3 separate regions of the Homo sapiens genome follow, and all the other regions are linked to region 1. Evidence: promoter capture Hi-C in human tissues and cell types (Jung and others, 2019). All regions are on one chromosome and are shown on one strand. Each heading gives the region's core, a stretch centred on a gene start or on the middle of the fragment in contact. The rest is flanking DNA. Distances are from core to core; before and after follow the strand shown. Region 1 holds the start of SLC22A24 (solute carrier family 22 member 24). Region 2 overlaps SLC22A25 (solute carrier family 22 member 25). Region 3 overlaps SLC22A25 (solute carrier family 22 member 25).

Region 1 (3,701 bases), core at 495-2,994:
TAGGTTAAAATGAGACCCATAGGGTGGGGCCCTGATCCAATATGACTAGTGTCCTTATAAGAAGAGGAAGGAACACCAGGTGTGCACATGCATAAATGAAAGAATATGTGAGGACATGACGAGAAGGCAGCTATTGACAAACCAAAGAGAGAGGCTCAGAGGAAATCAAATCTGTTGACACCTTGATCTTAGACTTTCAGCCTTCAGAACTGTGAGAAAATAAACTTCTGTAAAGTCACCTTCTGTTAAGTCTGTGGTATTTTGTTATGCAGCCCTAGTGAACTAAAACATTTCTAACAATTTACAACAAAACCCTGTGATGTATTAGATTTCCTGTTTGGAATAGATCCATGAAAGTCATTTCCTGAACAGAGAATCTCTGCAGGCTGGACAGGAATCTGCTTTTTTTTTTTTTTTTTTTTTTTTTTTTTTTTTTTTTTGAGACAGAGTCTTGCTGTGTCACCCAGGCTGGAGTGCAGTGGCACAATCTCAGCTCACTGCAACCTTCACTCCCAGGTTCAAGTGGCTCTCCTGCCTCAGCCTCCTGAGTAGCTGGGATTATGGGTGTGAGCCACTGCACCCATCCAGGAATCTGCATCTTAAGATGTTTCACGGGTGACCAGTTTGAAATTCAAAAATAAGAACTTCTTGTAGGCAGAATAAATTCTGGAGATTCTGTTTGTTTCTTTGGGTTTCTTTTTAATCAACCTGTCTTTTCCCATTATATCCGTGCATGCTATTTAGCTGCTAGCTTTTGAATATCCTTGTAGGTACACAATTATGCCACACCTTTAACTGTAATTGTGTACTTATTATTCCCTCATTTAAAAATTGACTCTTGCAGTCCCTCATCCACTGCTTCATTATCTCAAGAATCTTCCCACAAGAGTAGGTCAAGCTGGCTGGGCATGGTGGCTCATGCCTGTAATCCCAGCACTTTCAGAGGCTGAGGTGGGCAGATCACATGAGGTCAGGAGTTTGAGGCCAGCCTGGCCAATATGATGAAACCCCTTCTCCATAAAAAATACAAAAATTAGCTGGGCATGTGGGTGAATGCCTGTAATCCCAGCTACTTGGGAGGCTGAGACATGAGAATTGATTGAACCCAGGAGGTCAAGGCTGCAGAGAGCCAAGATCCCACCGCTGCACTCCAGCCTGGTGACAGAGTGATACTTTGTCTCAAAAAAAAAAAGAGTAGGTAAAGTTAATTTGTAGAGGGATGACTCCCCTGCTCCATGGCATCTATCCAGGTATCATTAAACAGTTTCTCCTTAATCTTCCATAGCACACTGTGTATCTTCCTTATAGTTATATGATGACATTACAGTACAATTATTTACAAACCTATCATTTATATGAGACATTGAGCTCAAATTTTATTTTAAACTTATAAATAAATATATGTAAGTTAACATTGCTTTATTTACAGCAATAGCACCAGAAAGCCCAAAATGATATTTGAATGAATCAATAAATCTGGTGAAATATACTACTATAATACATAAAAGCACTATTTCCTTTCTCTTTGTTTCTTATCCTAATTTCCCTATTTTAAAAAATCTTTAAAGCCCTGTCATTGGTATGACTTGAACTGAAGCAGAACTACACTTAGCAAAAGTCAATGTTTAAACTCAACATTCCACTTTCCTTTAACTAAGAATAGTTTTTATTAACTTTTAGTAAAACTCAGTCCTAGTCCAAAAAAAGCCCTGCTCTCTGATCTTTGTACAAGAACATCATAAAGCAATTCACTTTGGATTTTCTAATATCCCATTTCTAAGAAGAATGGCAGACTATTGAACAGGTGTATTTTAGGTCACGTGGGGACTGCATCCACCTGAAAATCCACCGTTGACTTATCAGGAAACTCAGAGATCAGGATCTTTCACAGAGTAGTCTTTTAAGAAGATTCAGTTGTCAACAGCTAGCAGTCTCTTTGCCAAATAATTATATCTGTGACTTCTGAAACTATTTGGCTGCCTAAAGTTAAAGGACTTGGGGAAAGTCCTTCCACTGCTCTTCTGCAGTAGTGTCACACCACTCAGTGCAGGGCCCACCAAGAAGAAAGCAGTGTCAGGATCCACATGGCACTATGGTAACTTTGTGAAAGGGGACATTTTCTCCCTCTGAACTTCTCTTCATAAAGTCATTGTGCTTCCTCTTGGGGATCACCTGTTCAGTCTCAATGGGCTTTGATGTGCTCCTGGATCAAGTGGGTGGCATGGGGAGATTCCAGATTTGTCTGATAGCTTTCTTTTGCATCACCAACATCCTACTGTTCCCTAATATTGTGTTGGAGAACTTCACTGCATTCACCCCTAGTCATCGCTGCTGGGTCCCCCTCCTGGACAATGACACTGTGTCTGACAATGATACCGGGACCCTCAGCAAGGATGACCTCCTGAGAATCTCCATCCCACTGGACTCAAACCTGAGGCCACAGAAGTGTCAGCGCTTTATCCATCCCCAGTGGCAGCTCCTTCACCTGAACGGGACCTTCCCCAACACAAATGAGCCAGACACGGAGCCCTGTGTGGATGGCTGGGTGTACGACAGAAGCTCTTTCCTCTCCACCATCGTGACTGAGGTAAGAGGCCCCATGTAAATCTTCTGTTTATATGATTAAAGTGTTTGGAGTTAACACAAAAAAATTGACTTGCTTTATACCTTTAGTCCTTAGATGGGACCTGCAGTCAGCTCATTCTTCATTCCTTTAGCAGGTGGCAGCACCTGATTATCTATTAATACTCTACGATACAGCCAAGTGTATTAGTATTATATTGGTGTAAAAGTAAATTGTGGTATTAGACCATGAATTTTAAATCATTATAACTAGGCTCAAACACATCTTTATTAATCAAAATAGGAACCATTACAATCAACACATTTTTGGCAATGAGAAATAAGTTTGTTAATTCTGTAACATAAATATCCACGCTTTGGGATTTGACAAATTTTTCTGCATTCTGCTGGTTGTGAAAGTGTTTCTCCTACAAAATGTTGTTGAGATACTTAGTTTTGGTTGTTTTTGTTTTTTGCTTTTTGTTTTTTGAGGGAGGCCAGAGTTTTATTACTACTCAAATTAGTCTCCCTGAGCATTCGGGGAGCAGAGTTTTTAAGGATAACTTGGTGGTTGGGGGGCAGCCAGTGAGCCAAGAGTGCTGACTGATCAGGGCTGAAATCATAGGGAGTCAAAGCTGCCTTCTTGTGCTGAGTCACTTCCTAAGTGGGGGTCACAAGATCAGATGAGCCAGTTTATCGATCTGGGTGGTGACAGCTGATCCATCAAGTGCGGGATCTGCAAAATATCTCAAGCACTGATCTTAGGAGCAGTTTAGGGAGGGTCAGAATCTTGTAGCCTCCAGCTGTGTGACTACTAAATGATAATTTCTAATCCTGTGGCTAACGTTAATCTAGTCCCCAGGCAAGAAGGAGGTCTGCTTTGGGAAAGGCTGTCTTTGTTCAAACTATAAACTACAAACTAAGTTTCTCCCAAAGTTAGTTCAGCCTATGCCCAGGAATGCACAAGGACAGCTTGGAGGTCAGAAGCAAGATGGAGTCGGTTAAGTTAGATCTCTTTCACGGTCTCAGTCATAATTTTGCAAAGGCAGTTTCAATCCCTCCCTTTGGGTTTTATAACACCTTAATCTTAAGATGTAGGCTATGAAGACGGGAAAAGGCCATCTATCACTCCAGCTTCT
Region 2 (3,701 bases), core at 656-3,155, 58 kb before region 1:
TATTTAGGATACTTAGCTCTTCTTGTTGCATTTATCCCTTTACCATTATGTAATGCCTTTCTTTGACTTTTTTGATCTTTTTTGGTTTAAAGTCTGAAGTCTGTTTTATCAGAGACTGGGATTACAACCCCTGCTTTTCTTTCTATTTGCTTGGTAAATATTCTTCCATCCCTTTATTATGAGCCTATGTGTGTTCTTGCATGTGAGATGGATCTCCTGAATACAGCACACAGATGGGTCTTGACTCTTTATCCAATTTGCCCATCTGTGTATTTTATTTGGGGCATTTAGCCCATTTACATTTAAGGTTAATATGGTTATATGTGAATTTCATAGTGTCGTTATGATGCTAGCTGGTTATTTTGCCCATTAGTTGATGCCGTTTCTTCATATTGTCAATGGTCTTTACAATTTGGTATGTTTCTGCAGTGGCTGCTACCAGTTTTTCCTTTTTATATTTAGTGCTTCCTTCAGGAGCTCTTGTAAGGCAGGCCTGGTGGTGGCAAAATCTCTTAGCATTTGCTTGTCTGCAAAGGATTTTATTTCTCCTTCAATTATGAAGCTTAGTTTGGCTGGATATGAAATTCTGGGTTAAAAATTCTTTTCTTTAAGAGTGTTGATTATTGGCTCCCACTCTCTTCTGGCTTGTAGGGTTTCTGCAGAGTGATCCACTGTTAGTCTGATGGGCTTCCCTTTGTAGGTAACCTGACCTTTCTCTCTGGCTACCCCTAACATTTTTTCTGTCATTTCAACCTTGCTGAATCTGATGCTTATCTGTCTTGGGGTTGCTCTTCTCGAGGAGTATCTTTGTGGTGTTCTCTGTATTTCCTGAATTTGAATGTTGGCCTGTCTTGCTAGGTTGGGGAAGTTCTCCTGGATAATAGCCTGAAGAGTATTTTCCAATTTGGTTTCATTCTCCTCGTCACTTTCATGTACACCAGTCAATCATAGGTTTGGTCTTTTCACATAGTCCTATATTTCTTGGGGACTTTGTTCATTCCTTTTCATTCTTTTTTCTCTAATCTTGTCTTCACACCTTATTTCATTAAGTTGATCTTCAATCTCTGATATACTTTCTTCTGCTTGATCAATTTTGCTATTGATACTTGTGTATGCTTCATGAAGTTCTCATGCTGTGTTTTGCAGCTCCATCAGGTCATTTATGTTCTTCTCTAAACTGGTTATTCTAGTTAGCCATTCATCTATCCTTTTTTCAAGGTTCTTGGCTTCCTTGCATTGGGTTAGAACATGCTCCTTTAGCTCAGAGGAGATTGTTATTACCCACCTTCTGAAGCCTACTTCTGTCCATTTGTCAAGCTCATTCTGTGTCCAGTTTTGTTCCCTTGCTGCCAAGGAGTTGTGATCCTTTGGAGAAGAGGCATTCTTGGTTTTGGAATTTTCAGCCTTTTTGCACTGGTTTTTCTTCATCTTTGTGGATTTATCTACTTCTGGTCTTTGATGTCGGTGACCTTCAGATGGGGTTTTTGTGTGATTGTACTTTTTGTTGATGTTGATGCTATTCCTTTCTGTTTGTTAGTTTGACTTCTAATAATCAGGCCCCTCTGCCGCAGGTCTGATGGCATTTGCTGGAGGTCCACTCCAGACCCTGTTTCCCTGGGTATCACCAGCAGAGGCTGCAGAACAGCAAAGATTGCTGCCTGCTCCTTCCTCTGGAAGTTTCATCCCAGAGGGGCACCTGCCAGATGCCAGCTGGAGCTCTCCTGTATGAGGTGTCTGTCAACCCCTGCTGGGAAGTGTCTCCCTGTCAGAAGGCACCGGGGTCAGGGACCCACTTGAGGAGTCAGTCTGTCCCTTAGCAGAGCTCAAGCACTGTGCTCGGAGATCCACTGCTCTCTTCAGAGCCAGCAAGCAGGAACGTTTAAGTCTGCTGAAGCTGCGCCCACAGCCGCCCCTTCCCCCACGTGCCCTGTCCCAGGGATATGTGAATTTTATCTATAAGCCCGTGACTGGGGCTGCTTCCTTTCTTTTAGAGATGCCCTGCCCAGAGAGAAGGAATCTAGAGAAGCAGTCTGGCTACAGCAGCTTAGGCACTGAGCCGTGGTGGGCTCCGCCCAATTCAAATTTCCTTGTGTCTTTGTTTACACTGTGAGGGGAAAACCGCCTACTCAAGCCTCAGTAATGTTGGACACCCTTCCCCTCACCAAGCTCTAGTGTCCCAAGTCGACTTCAGCCTGCTGTGCTGGCAGTGAGAATTTCAAGCCAGTGGATCTTAGCTTGCTTGGCTCCATGGGGGTGGGATCTACTGAGCTAGACCACTTAACTCCCTGGCTTCAGTGCCCCCTTTACAGGGGAGTGAATGGTTCTGTCTCACTGGCATTCCAGGCACCACTGGGGTATTAAAAAAAAAAAAACTCCTGCAGCTAGCTCAGTGTCTGCCCAAATGACTACCCAGTTTTGTGCTTGAAACCCAGGTCCCTGGTGGTATAAGCACCCAAGGGAATCTCCTGGTCTGCGGGCTGTGAAGACCATGTGAAAAGCATAGTATCTGGGCCCAGATGCACCGTCCCTCACAGCACAGTCCCTCATGGCTTCCCTTGGCTAGGGGAGTGAGTTACCCAACCCCTTGCACTTCCCAGGCAAGGTGATGTCCCAACCTGCTTCTGCTCACCCTCTGTGAGCTGCACCCACTGTCTAACCAGTCCCAATAAGATGAGCCAGGTACCTCAGTTGGAAATGCAGAAATCACCCACCTTCTGCATTGATCTCGCTGGGGGCTGCAGACCAGAGCTGTTCCTCTTCAGCCATCTTGCCAGCCACCCCTCTTTGCCCACTTTTAATGGGGTTTTTTTATTGAAATTTTGTCTAACTTCCTTATAGATTCTGAATATCAGACCTTTATTGGATGCATAGTTTGCAAAAATTTTCTCCCATTCTGTAGGTTGTCTGTTTACTCTGTTGATAGTTTCTTTTACTGTGCAAAAGCTCTTTAGTTTAGTTAGATGCCATTTGTCAATTTTTGCTTTGGTTGCAATTGCTTTGGGTGTTTTTATCATGAAATCTTTTCCTGTGCCTATGTCCTGAATGGTATTGCCTAGGTTGTCTTCCAGGGTTTTTATAGTTTGGGATTTTACGTTTAAGTTTTCAATTTATATTGAGTTAATTTTTGTACATGGTGTAAGTAAGGAGTTCAGTTTTAGTCTTCTGAATATGTCTAGCCAGTTATCATAGCACCATTTATTGAATAGGGAATTATTTCCCCCATTGCTTGTTTTTGTCAGTTTTGTTGAAGATCAGAGAGTTGTAGGTGTTTGGTCTTATTTCTGTGTTCTCTGTTCTGTTCCATTGGTCTATGTGTTTGTTTTTGTTCCAGTACCATGCTGTTTTGGTCACTGAAGCCCTGTAGTAAAGTTTGAAGTTGGGTAGCATGATGGATGCCTCCAGCTTCATTTCTTTTGCTTAGGATTGTCTTGGCTGTTCAGGCTCCTTTTTGGTTTCATATGTATTTTAAAATAGTTTTTCCTAGCTCTGTGAAGAATCTCAGTGGTAGCTGAATAGGAATAGCATTGAATCTATAAATTGCTTTGGGCAGTATGGCCACTTTAACAATATTGGTTCTTCCTATCCATGAGCATGCAATTTTTTCTGTTTGTATCATCTCTGATTTCTTTGAGCAGTGGTTTGTAGTTCTCCTTGTAGAGATCTTTCACCTCCTTAGTTAGCTGTATTCCTAGGCATTTTAT
Region 3 (3,701 bases), core at 746-3,245, 36 kb before region 1:
GAGTTCAGTACGTAACATTCATCTCCTATGCCCAAACCACACATAACTGAGAGATAGTTAAAGGGTTCAGAAACATGGAGATCAAAATTTTTAGCATTTGTACTACTGAGAAAACTGGAATAGAAGACATGACTTCACGTACCTTGCCTCAACAGGATTTCTAACACTTCATCCCAGAATTAAGCTTACTCACCAGTCACAGGTTTTCCCAGAGGTGCAGAGCCTAACCTGATAAATATAGGATGTGGCCCAGAAAGCAGACTTGAATGCAATCTCTTTCTAAACGTGTTCTGGGCACTACAGCATGCCTGTCTCATTCTCCCACACTCACCAACAATACCATAGTCCTCCACAGACAACTTAGGGTATGTGGAGAGGGACCAAGATTATCCCTGTTGAAACTTGTTCTTCACAGAAACATAAGGGTTAGTTTCCAGCTTCATCCATCATTCTCATCAAACTATCGCAAGGACAAAAAAACTAACACCGCATGTTCTCACTCATAGGTGGGAATTGAACAATGAGAACACATGGACACAGGAAGGGGAACATCACACACCAGGACTGTTGTGGGGTGGGGGGAGGGGGGAAGGATAGCATTAGGAGATATACCTAATGCTAAATGACGAGTTAATGGGTGCAGCACACCAACATGGCACATGTATATCATGTACCCTAAAACTTAAAGTATAATAATAAAACATAAGGGTTAGGAAGAAAGTACCCCACTCCCAAACCTCCAGCATTTCTGAAACAAGAACCAAAATAAACTCTCTCAGGAAATTTATCTCTTTCCTGAGGCAGGCAAACTGTTTTTCACCAAAGGCAGTTCAGCTGAGAACCAGGTCTTTGGGGCCCATCTGGTATAAATGGAGCTTTGGAGTTTAATCCAAGTAACTCTTCATTTTTTTCCCCATCCTGATCTGAATCTCTAACCTACATATTCTTTTCAATGCTCTGCAGCCAATTAAATCTCTTGTCTAAAATAGCCTTGATAAATAATTTCTCTGAGGCTTCTTTAACTCTCTATTCTAACTTCCATACCACTTTTATATTTGCCATTGCATTTTTAAGCCATGTATTTTCTGCTAGACAGAAAGGGATGTCATCTATCTTGTCATCTGTTGGTTGACAAGTCCTCTTACAATGCCTACCATTTTGTGACAACTGAACAGTTTATTGCTTCTGTTGTTGTTGAAGGTTTTGAAATCCACCATGAAGCAAGAACTGGAGGCAGCACAGAAAAAGCATTCTCTTTGTGAATTGCTCCGCATACCCAACATATGTAAAAGAATCTGTTTCCTGTCCTTTGTGAGGTAAGTTTCATGCAGTGTGTGAGGAATGTTAAAATAGAGGAGACATAAATCCATTTCTTATTTCAAATGATACAACATGTTGAAGGAAAATATTTGGGGGATAAAAGATGATAAATCCATAAAGAGAATTGCTATTTTTAAAAGTGGTAAAAGGGTTATGAAAAGGCTGACACAGAATTAATTACACAATTTCTGTTTATAACATCATTCTACCAGGCTCATCAGTGGAGACTTATGCTAAGAACTTCAATTATAGTATAGGTTTAGACTCAAAGTTTCTTCATTTGTTTCCATTTTAATTGAGCTAATTTATAAACAGCAAATCATATGAATGTACACAGATCAATGAATATTACCAGTTATTAATATCTAGCTACCACTCAGATCAAGGTATAGAAAAAATTCTAAAACACTGGGAAATGATCACAAGTTCAGCAAGATGACGTAACAGAAAATCCTACCCCTCAACCGCACACAGAAACACTGATTAAATAATGACTGGACAAAAATACTTCTATGAGAATTTCAAAACTGAGACAAGACATTGTAATGCCCCAGATGAGCACGAAACCAAAAACAGTTGCACTGAAATGGGCAAGAAGAGTAATGTCAGTTTATACATGACAACCCCTTCCCAAAGTTGTTACAGCTCATGCCAAGAGAGGACACCCTGGCCTATGACTTTTCCCTCACAGGGAAGGAAAGAGTAGAGCATTCAGCCACACCTTGGCCTTTGGACACACTGTGTGAGGAACTGGTCTCTGTCTCCCCTCACTCAGAGCACTGATGGAACTGGCATATTTGGATGCCTAAGGTCACTGAGGACAAAGTGAGTACAAAAGAAAGCTGTGACTCACACAGCTCAGTGCAATGAAAAGAATATGCACAACTTGAGATTTCTCCCTCAGGAGGGAAAGGAGCTCAGTATGTGTCTGATATACTGATTTTCCAGGGAGCTGCCCAAGAAATTAGTTTTTTTCTAGCCCAACCATTATGCCAGTAGGACCCCACACGCACTCTAGATGCCTCAGAACTACTGAGAACAAAGACAGCTGGGTGTTAAGCTGCTACATCAGAGGACTCATGGTATGGCAGACAGATACCACAGAAAGCAAGAGATTGCCAGTTCCTGAAAAACAGAAACCAGGAAATCCCTCTAATTAGGAATCTACATGCACAAATACAGAGAAGATACTTTCACAGAGTAGAATTGAAGGTCCCCAGAATCTCTATCTGGGCTGATTGTAAAAGCCAGTCTGGGAAGACAGGAAGAGGTGGCTATTTCTTCAAATGTATAGATACCAATGCAAAGCTACAAAGAACACGAAGAAACAGAGAAATATGACACAAAAGGGAACAAAATAAATCTTAAGAAACTGATCATAAAGAAATGGAGAGATATAGACCAGGCACAGTGGCTCATGCCTGTAATTCCAGCATTTTGAGAGCCTGAGGCAGGCGGATCACCTGAGGTCAGGAGTTCAAGACCAGCCTGGCCAAACATGGTGAAACCCATCTCTACTAAAATTACAAAAATTAGCCGGGCATCATGGCCCTGTAATCCCAGCTACTCAGGAGGCTGAAGCACCAGAATTGCTTCAACCCACGAAGTGGAGGTTGCAGTGAGCCAAGATTGCACCACTGCACTCCAGCCTGGGTGACAGAGCAAAACCCCATTTCAAAAAAAAAAAAATTACAGACTTAAATGTAAGACCTAAAACTATGATAATACTAGAAGAAAGCATTGAGGAAATCCTTTAGGACATTGCTATTAGCAAAGTTTTCTTGAGTAAAAAGTCAAAAGCACAGGCAAACAAAGCAAAAAAAATGACAAATGGAATTACATCAAGCTAAAAATCTTCTGCACAACAAAGGAAAACAATCAACAAAGTGGAGAAACAACCTACAGAATAGAAAAAAAATTGCAAACTATTCAACCGACAAGGGATTAATAAATCAAACCTATAAGGAACATAAACAACTCAGTAGCAAAAAAACAAATAAGCTTATTTTTAAATGGGCAAGATACCTGAATAGACATTTCTTAAAATAAGATATACAAATGACCAACAAGTATAAAAAATGCTCAATACAGTTAATCACCAGAAAAAATGTAAATTAAAACCACAATAAGATATTATTTCACCCCAGTTAAAATATTATCAAAAAGACAAAAAAAAAAATGCTGGGGAAGATGCATATAGAGGGGGATGTTTGCACACTGTTGGTGGGAATATAAATCAGTACAGCCACTATGCAAAACAATATAAAATTTTGTGAAAAGATTAAAAATGGAAATACCATATTATCCAGCAGTCTCACTTTTGGATATATATGCAAAGGTAGAAAATCAGCATATTGAAGAGATATCTGCACTTCTATGTT

Evidence for each region. The method cuts DNA at HindIII sites, captures the fragments that hold promoters and counts their contacts. A contact is called where the count stands out against the background at its distance.
Region 2: a fragment that was not itself captured here is called in contact with the fragment with the promoter of SLC22A24 in region 1 in 2 of the 25 tissues and cell types used here (H1 embryonic stem cells and adrenal gland).
Region 3: a fragment that was not itself captured here is called in contact with the fragment with the promoter of SLC22A24 in region 1 in 1 of the 25 tissues and cell types used here (IMR-90 fibroblasts).

Annotation. Positions count from the first base shown.
Region 1 is chr11:63,142,264-63,145,964 of GRCh38, reverse strand. It overlaps SLC22A24 (solute carrier family 22 member 24), which reads left to right and starts at 1,744. Exons shown (of 10, transcript NM_001136506.2): 1 at 1,744-2,587. The coding sequence starts at 2,186. The HindIII fragment of the contact is 8,571 bases long and covers 1-3,701 here.
Region 2 is chr11:63,200,922-63,204,622 of GRCh38, reverse strand. The region is part of intron 7 of SLC22A25 (solute carrier family 22 member 25); the gene reads left to right. Among named protein-coding and RNA genes, the nearest start is that of SLC22A25, 41 kb to the left of the region's middle. RefSeq lists a silencer at 1,951-2,130. The HindIII fragment of the contact is 4,564 bases long and covers 1-3,701 here.
Region 3 is chr11:63,178,275-63,181,975 of GRCh38, reverse strand. SLC22A25 (solute carrier family 22 member 25) reads left to right here. Exons shown (of 12, transcript NM_199352.6): 9 at 1,201-1,316. Among named protein-coding and RNA genes, the nearest start is that of SLC22A24, 36 kb to the right of the region's middle. The HindIII fragment of the contact is 4,974 bases long and covers 1-3,701 here.